Linked DNA regions of Homo sapiens: region 1 is linked to region 2. The links are contacts of gene promoters, found by promoter capture Hi-C in blood cells and fetal thymus (Javierre and others, 2016). All regions are on one chromosome and are shown on one strand. Each heading gives the region's core, a stretch centred on a gene start or on the middle of the fragment in contact. The rest is flanking DNA. Distances are from core to core; before and after follow the strand shown.

Region 1 (4,594 bases), core at 877-3,376, 1.0 Mb after region 2:
TGAACACCACAACAGAAGACAACTATACTTCAAAGAATCTAAGGTGCTTATGACTGTAAGTCTGCCATAATTTTATGTACCACAAGAGAAACATGCTGCCAATTAAAGTGTGACATGCTATGAATTGTAAGATGCATCCCAGCTTCAAAGACAAAAACTTGAAAAAAATGGTATAGCTGGCTGGGCGCAGTGGCACACGCCTGTAATCCCAGCACTTTGGGAGGCTGAAGTGAGTGGATTGCTTGAGGCCAGGAGTTGAGATCAGCCTGGCCAACATGGAAACCCTGTTTCTTTTTTTTTTTTTTAATTTTTTTTGAGACGGAGTCTTGTTCTGTCGCCCAGGCTGGAGTGCAGTCGCGTGATCTTGGCCTATTGCAAGCTCCGCCTCCCAGGTTCACGCCATTCTCCTGCCTCAGCCTTCAGGGTAGCTGGGACTACAGGCACCCACCACCACGCCCAGCTAAGTTTTTGTATTTTTTGTAGAGATGGGGTTTCACTGTGTTAGCCAGGATGGTCTCGATCTCCTGACATCGTGATCCACTTGCCTCGGCCTCCCAAAGTGCTGGGATTACAGGCGTGAGCCACCGTGCCCAGCTGGAAACCCTGTTTCTACTGAAAATACAAAAATTAGCCGGGTGTGGTGGCACACGCCTGTGGTCCCAGCTACCTGGGAAGCTGAGGCACGAGAATTGTTTGAGCCTGGGAAGCAGAGGTTGCAGTGAGCCGAGATCACACCACTGCACTCCAGCCTGGGTGACAGAGAGAAAGAAAAAAGAAAAAAGTGTATAGTTTAGATTTAATGAAATTTGGTAAATCAACAGATTCATCACCAATAAACAGGTTCACCTTTACCACTGAGGTGAATTAAATTACATTTCACAAAGGAGACATTCCAGTGGCATTGGGTGCAGTGTGAACAAGCTTATTAATTCCAAACTGTAAGCTATCATAATCAGCCAGTGCATGAGGCTGGAGCAACTGAAGGAAGACCTGAATTTATTCCGCGAAAAAGTGGAGTAAGTGGATCACGGCTGGAGCTTGGGCTTAATAAGCAAAAAACCAAGAATTGCCAAATGACAGAGAACCCCCATCTAGCTGCTTAGGTGGTTCTCTTCTTAACTCCTTTTTTTGGTGAGATAGGGTCTCACTCTGCCACCCAGGCTGGAGTGTAGTGGTGCCATCACAGCTCACTGCAGCCTCTACCTCCTGGGTTCAAGTGATCCTCTCACCTCAGCCTCTCAAGTAGCTATGACTACAGTCATGCACCACCATGCCTAGTTATCTTTTTTTTTGAGACAGTCTCCCAGGCTGGAGCGCAGCAGGATGATCTCGGCTTGCTGCAACCTCCACTTTCTGGGTTTAAGCAATTGCCATGCCTCGCTTGCCCGAGTAGCTGGGACTATAGACTATAGGCACATGTCACCATGTCCAACTAATTTTTGTATTTTTAGTAGAGGTGTGGTTTCACCATGTTGGCCAGGTTGGTCTCGAACTTCTGACCTCAAGTGATCTGCTCGCCTTGGCCTCTTAAAGTGCTGGGATTACAGGTGTGAGCCACTGTGCCTGGCCCCTTGCTTTTTGTAGAGATGAGCCTGCACCATGTTATCCAGGCTGGTCCCAAACTCCTGGACCCAAGTGACCCACCAACCTCGGACTCCCAAAGTGCTGGGATTACAGGTATGAGCCACTGTGCCCCGCCTATCCTTTACTCTTTTCTTTTTTCTTTTTGAGACAAGGTCTCACTCTGTCATCCAGGCTGGAGTGCAATGGTGTGATCTCAGCTCACTGCAACCTCCGCCTCCTGGGTCCAAGGGATTCTTGTGCCTCAGCCTCCCGAGTAGCTGGGATTACAGGCGCACACCACCACGCCCAGCTAATTTCTTTGTTATTTTTTTGGTAGAGACGGAGTGTTTCACCATGTTGGTCAGGCTGGTCTCGAACTCCTGACCTCAGGTGATCTGCCCATGTTGGCCTCCCACAGTGCTAGGATTACAGGCGTGAGACACCGCACCCAGCCTCAACTCTTTTTTTTTTTTTTTGGAGACAAGAGTCTTGTTCTGTTGCCCAGGCTGGAGTCCAGTGGCACGATCTCAGCTCATTACAACCTCCACCTCCCGGGTTCAAGCAATTCTCCTGCCTCAGCCTCTGGAGTACCTGGGACTACAGACGTGCGCCACCATGCCCAGCTAATTTTTTTTTGTATTTTAGTAGAGACAGAGTTTCACCACATTGGCCAGGATGATCTTGATCTCCTGACCTCGTGATCCACCTGCCTTAACCTCCCAAAGTGCTGTGATTACAGCCATGAACCACCGTGCCCAGCCAAAACTGTACTTGTCTCCTTCAAGCTGGAATCGAACCAGCAACCTAAGGACGTCTCCTACTGAGGAAGTAGCTATAGTCCTCTGCTCTACCAGCTGAACTATTGAAGGGACCTTAACTCTTGATATCAGAATTCAGTCTTATTTTTAAGATTTAAGAAAAATGGGGAAAAAAAGGAAAGGATTACTGTACAAAAATAGCATATGGCCTGCTCTGTAATTAATACCCTGTGACATCCCTCCTTTAGTCACTGCAATGGCAACAGGAACAAGTTGGTATGCCTGCGTTTGCCTACCTTAAAATGTTAACCAAGGTTCTGTGCAGATTTAGGTATTCTGCTGTGTGAACTCATTAAAGCGGCACAAAAGCAGCAAGTGCACCCTGCTCACCAAAGGTAATGTAGCCAATGTTGTCACCCACAGCGGCGTCTGTGTCTTTCAGCTCCAGAGGAGGTTCCCTGTGGCTAAAGAGGACCTGTGGGGCTGTGTGGCTGGCTCTGCGTCCTTCTTTGAACTCCTGCCAAGACAAAGCAAAAGCAACCAGAAGAGAAGTGGGTGTAAGATGAGTGGCAACTCAAGCTATAGGGTTTGTTCTATGTGGTGTGACCTTTGTAGCCCTCCAGACCAGCAGGAGGTTAAAAATAAACTACACCAAACCTGAAATATGACAAGTGCTAGCTGCTACCACTACACTTCAGATTCAAACGGGAGAGACTGCAAAGTACTTAATAAGTCAGATCTTCAAAATGTGATGAAAAGTAGTGATAATCCTTTTCCTTTGCACTAACATAGGTGATAAACTACCATACTTTCTCTGGGCTCTGGGACTTTGCATGAGTCTTTTTTCACTGAGGATCCTGTTGCTATTTAGAATTCATCAATAAAATCTTTAGAGCAAACTTAAGCTCTTCTTGCGGACAGAAGACAATGGAATGAAAGAAGCTGAGTTGTCTTGGTGCTCATAAAGGAAGCCCTTCCTTCTATGTTCCAATCTCCAAACCTGAAGCTTCTACAGTCCATACATTCCTATGTAAATAGACAAGTAATACAAGGCTTCTCTCTCTCAGCCAGATCTGCAAGAACAGAAGTAGATTTTCTAGCAATGCCAGTAAAACTGGATAATCCAAATTCATCAAGTGGGCCTTCCAAGATGATAGACAGCAGGAGGATGCTGCCAAGGACTCTCCAAGGTCTCTTGTTTTAGGAGTTCTGAAGGCATGGTTACACAGCCATGTGGCCTGCGTGCCCTTCTACTGCTGCTCAAATACTGCCTCCTAATACCATCTCCAACAAACCCAGGCAGGTACTGCTCTCTTGCTGGAGCTGCCATGTCTTTTCTACAAACCTCTACTATGATATTTTACCATTCATTAATGTATCTGGCTCCCCTACCAGGTTATGAGTTCAAATCAAAGATCCTGCTTAATTTATCTTTGTAATTTATTCTTCTGTCTTTCAAAGAGGCTATGCAGCACATGCCTTGCTGAGAGAAAGCAAGTGCTTCTACCCTAGCTGGTTTAGTATCATCACACTGTACAGGAATAGGCAAGGGCTGTTTCCAGTTGCAGGCAGGAAGAATAAACACTGATTAGCAAGCCCTCTCGACAATTAGTGGCAAAAGAAAGATGATGGCTGAGGAGCCCCAATGCCCAGCCTGGGACCTCACCTATTTCACAAACTGCCTCTCATGCTAACACTACCAAGCTTTAAGTAGGAAAAGAAATGACCATCAACTGGGTTAGATTAGTCCCCTTTTGAACAGATTTTGTTCCCCGAAGGAAAAATATCCAAAAAGGAAGGGAAGGAGTCAAGATTATCCCAAATGGAAATTTCTAGAGCAAAGCTTCTAAAATCGCCCTTCTCTAGAAAACATTTTTTATTCTACAAAGGGGTTAAGAAGCTTTTTAACTTTTACTGGTTTTACTTTTCGGTATTAAGGAATTAAACAGAACAGATACGTAACTGTTGGCATTTTCTTGTGTCTGTTAAGTGTCTCCAAGGCTCTAATTCACAGGTACATGTGGTATTCACAATGAGATGGGGTATTTATAAACCAGTGGTGACTTATTAGCACTCATTAGTTTTGTATATGGAAAATAACATATTTAAGGCTCGGTCAACGATACGTTTCTGGCTTGGGCCTATTCTTTCTTTCTTTTTTGAGACAGGGTCTCACTCTGTCACCCAGGCTGGAGTGCAGTGGCGTGATCTTGGCTCACTGCAACCTCCACCTCCTAGGTTCAAGTGATTTTCATGTGTCAGCCTCACGAGTA
Region 2 (4,290 bases), core at 1-2,500:
TTTTGTCTGGGTGCCACTGGAGAGCCTTGCGCCGATACCTGCAGAAAGTGGGTGCAGAGGAGAGAGTCGGGGGACAAATGCAGGCACTTCCCACCCAGGAACCGAACGACCTGTTTTCCCATTAGCCTATCACTGTCCTTTCACCCCCGGGTCCCAGTCCACCCCAGCTGCTAGGGCTGCCGCTGCTGTGATATTTTCATCAAGTTCCACCCTCTCTCCTCCGCCACCAGTGCTGGGACCACATGTACAAGCGGATACAATGCCAGGGTCCCTAGCCCCTCCCTAGGGCTCACTGGACTGGGGCTGCAAAGGTTGGGGCACATGTGGCCTCGAAGAGTACAGGGACACCGGCCCCTCCTCCTCATAGAGCCTCTTTGCACTGCATCTTTGCACTGCAGCCTGAGAATGCCCAAATCTAGGGGGAAGGGGGAGGGGAGGGGAAAGGAGGAGGAGGAGGAGGAGGAGGGGAAGATCAACTGGAGAACAACCCATAACACAGTGCAGCTCCCAGAGGAACTAACTACTTCACTCTCTGGACGTTCTCCTTGTACTCTACCAGGGGTCTCTTTCCTCCCTGCAGGTGTCACTCGGAAGAAGCACCCCAGTGCTTTCTAACGACCTGGTTCCCTCAGACACCTACAGGTGTCACTCTGAAGTGCCCCATGGTGGTGGCGGGTGGAGGGTGAGAGGTCTTCTGTTGCATACGGAGGCACTTACGCCTTCTTGATGTCATCAGCGGACGCACTTCGCGGCACGTCTAGGATCTCGTAGTAGGATGCCATGGCAACTGGTCAGTCGTCAGGCGGGCCTCCTTGGGGCTGCAGAAGAGAAGGAGTCAGGCGGAAAGAACCAAGAGCCCCACCCTGTGGCTGCAGCAGTCCCCCTCCCCGGGTGGCGGAAGGCGCTCCCAGTTGGAAGCGGAGCACACCGGGCTCTGCTTGCGGCCGGTGACTAGGCTCCCTCCGGCAGCCTTATCTGCCCCCGCAGGCCGGGGCCAAGAGCTATCTCGACGCCCAGGCCCAGGAGCCCTATCGGGGCCCCCCAACTCCAGCAGTCCGATCCAGGGCCCCCAGCCTGACCCGGGCCCCCGGCCGCACCTCCTCCGCCAGGAGTCCCGGCCTCCTGCGGCGCCCCGCCCCTGCCCCCCGCCGGGAACCGTCTGGCACCCGCAGCCCGGCTCGCGGCTGCTGCGTAGGACGCGCCCGGCCCAGCTGTGCGCGCAGGCATGCGTCAGCGGTGCGGAAACTACTAGAGACGGGGAGAAGGCCGGCTCCGCCTGTCCCCTGGGGGGGTGGGGGCCTGCAGGGGCTGCCGGGAGAAGAGGGCGGAGCCGGCTATTTTGGGCACACACCAGGACGACGTCAGCCCCAGCTGGGACCTGGGAGACTGCGGCCCCGCCTCCATCCAAGCGAGAAGCGCTCGCACGGAGGCTGGGGCAGCCCACAAACAAGCCGCTCGGCCCCCAGGTTCCTCTGTCACTTTCTTATAAACATGAGCGATGATCCATGCTTACTCACCCACCTCGAGGACTCAGACTCTTCCCTCCCTCCCCCCACCACGGTTCTAACTCCTCCCCCTTCTTCAGCTCCCAGCTCCAGCCCCAGGTCCCCCAGCAGGCTGCCCTGGCTTTCCTGAGTAGGTCAGAACTGCCTTTTACAGCATCTCGTGGCATTTCCTTCATCAGGCTTGTTAGAGCCACAAATTAGCATTTATTGGTTTGATTATTTTTTATTACCATTCACCTCCCCCACTAGAATGTCGATTTCACAGGACAGGAATTGTGTGTTTTTTCTCACTGGTCTATTAGAGCAGTCGTAGGGGTTCAAAACTACCCGTGGGATGAATAAATAATGAACACCTGCAAACCTCTTGTTGACAGTTTTGACACATTTGGGGGAGGTGAGGTAAAGGGGGCCGTACAACGGAATTCCCCAGGTTCAAGTCTTCCCAAACTGATCCTGAGTAGGCCTATTCCACTTCAAAATGCTCCCTGGGTTCAGGCCTCATTGGAGAGTTAGGAAACCTTCCAGAACTGGCTCCTGCTTGATCCCATCCAGGCCAATCCAAAGGCGTTAGCTGAGCATTTTTCTGCATTCAAGATGCTGCCAGGCCGTATAAAGAAGAATGTGGCCCAAGCCCTGCCTTTGCAGAGCTTGAACTTGATAAGATACCAGCCCATCAGTGTAGCCCGCTGGGAAACCCGAGGCTTTGGAAACAGAGTACAACCTGGCATTACTGTGAGACTTGGGAAAATCTCTGAGCACTCTTTTTTTCTCACTAAATATAGGTAGTGCCTAGGGTTGTTTGAAAGTCAAATGAGACATGGTACGAATTAGGTGTTACTGCGGTCCTGCTGGCATCGTGATTGGCTCAAGCAATAATGGTTATGTGAGTCCAGAAAAGTGCTTTAGGCTGGGGGACCCAGGAATACTTCGCCAACGAGAAGGGTTTGAGGCGGACGTGAGAGAAGAAGGTGGTGTGAGTGTCCTGGTTTCCTGGCTGCCCACCATCAGAACCTCCTGCCTACATTTGGGGAATTCCCATCGCAAGGGCCCTAATGGAAAGCAGGCCACCATTTGCCACAAAGCCCCAATGCTTGCTCTCCCTGACTCGGCTCTGGGGTTGCAGGCAGAAGACATGAGCTCCGCCAATCGGATGCTCCAACTGGGACTTTGAATCTGGAGCAAGTCACGGAATAGCAAGGCTGGTTTAGGAATTCATTTCTGCGGCGGCGGTGGAGGCGATGGGGCCAACAGCGGCCTCTAGTGTCTGGAGGAGGAAGTGTCAGCGCTACTGCCGCAGGTGAGGGACGAGAGTAGGAGGATCACTGCGGAGGGTGGAGGGGACAGGAGTCTCCTACACAGGCTGTCCTGTGCCCAACCTTGACTGTGGTACTGGCTGCCCAGCTTCCCTAGGTGCCTGTCTGATTGCTGACCCTTGTTTGCTGGCCCTTGCATTGATTCTGTGTGCTATCCGATATCTCTATAATTGTTGGGGGCAGGGGACTTGAAACAATTTGCCAGTTAGCTTCTGCTGTTTATAAGAGTCCTGACTGACACAAAGACTAAGGGTTAGACTTGGTATAAGAGGAAGGAGTGGTTGGGTTAAGTCACTCCAAATTTTCCAGATCTCTGCCTTTTTCTTCTTACTCTGCTGTGCCAACAGACATTTGTCTAGCACCTACCGTGTATGTCTTGTTATATTAAGAAAAAGAATATAAAAAAGTTTAAATTCCAATCTCTGTGCTCAAGGGGATAGGACATAGACAAATGACAACTGAGGGAAATTATATGGAGCACATCTAGCAGACAAAGGTTTAATTTCCTTTGTCCACAAAGAAATGCCAACTAATGAAAGACAATGACATTTTTAAATGGACAAAGGGACAGGCAGCTCACAGAAGAGGAAATACTGGCTTTTAAACAAATGAAAAGATGCTCAATCTCATTCACAAAAAAACTGTAAACTAAAGCTACGACAGGCCAGGCATGGTGGCTCATGCCTGTAATCCCAGCACTTTGGGAGGCCAAGGCGGGTAGATCACCTGAGGTCAGGAGTTTCAGATCAGCCTGGCCAATATGGTGAAACCCTGTCTCTACCAAAAATACAAAAAGTAGCCAGGCGTGGTGGCACATGCCTGTAATCCCAGCTACTCGGCAGGCTGAGACGGGAAAATCACTTGAACCCGGGAGGCGGAGGTTGCAGTGAGCCAAGATCGTGCCATTGCACTCCAGCCTGGGCAACAAGAGTGAAACTCCATCTCAAATAATAATAATTTTTAAAAGAATAATAATAATAAAGCTACAACAAAATACTTTGGGGTTTTGTTTTTTGAGATGGAGTCTTGCTCTGTCATCCAGGCTCCAGTGCAGTGGCACTATCTTGGCTCACTGCAACCTCCCAGGTTCAAGCAATTCCCCTGCCTCAGCCTCCCAAGTAGCTGGGATTACAGGCATGTGCCACCACCCCTGGCTAATTTTTGTATTTTTTGTAGAGATGGGGTTTCACCATGTTGGCCAGACTGGTCTCAAACTCCTGGCCTCAGATGATCCTCCTGCCTCAGCCTCCCAAAGTGCTGGGACTATAGGCCAGAGCCACTGCACCCGGGCACATGGCCCTAACAAAATACTTTGTTTCACTTATTGGATGATTGACAAAGACAAAAAAAAGAAAAAAGTTGAATACATTGTATGGGCAAGGCTGAGGGCACAGGCATTCTTATAGATTGGTAGTGGGAGGGTGGGTAATTTGATGTGACTTTTTTTTTTTTTTTTTTTTTGAGGCAGAGTT

The links. Contacts are between HindIII fragments. The CHiCAGO score rates a contact against its expected background, and 5 or more counts as called.
Region 1: a contact is called between a fragment that was not itself captured here and the fragment with the promoter of DNAJB2 in region 2, in 1 of 17 cell types (naive CD8 T cells). The highest score is 6.5, in naive CD8 T cells.

The regions. Positions count from the first base shown.
Region 1 is chr2:218,243,664-218,248,257 of GRCh38, reverse strand. ARPC2 (actin related protein 2/3 complex subunit 2) reads right to left here. Exons shown (of 11, transcript NM_152862.3): 8 at 2,712-2,838. It overlaps TRY-ATA1-1 (tRNA-Tyr (anticodon ATA) 1-1), which reads right to left and starts at 2,432; the gene lies at 2,340-2,432. The HindIII fragment of the contact is 2,406 bases long and covers 924-3,329 here.
Region 2 is chr2:219,276,326-219,280,615 of GRCh38, reverse strand. DNAJB2 (DnaJ heat shock protein family (Hsp40) member B2) reads right to left here and starts at 1,250. Exons shown (of 9, transcript NM_006736.6): 1 at 1,098-1,250; 2 at 718-818; 3 at 1-38. The coding sequence starts at 782. RefSeq lists silencers at 926-1,405, 2,647-2,849 and an enhancer at 2,426-3,130. The HindIII fragment of the contact is 26,435 bases long and covers 1-4,290 here.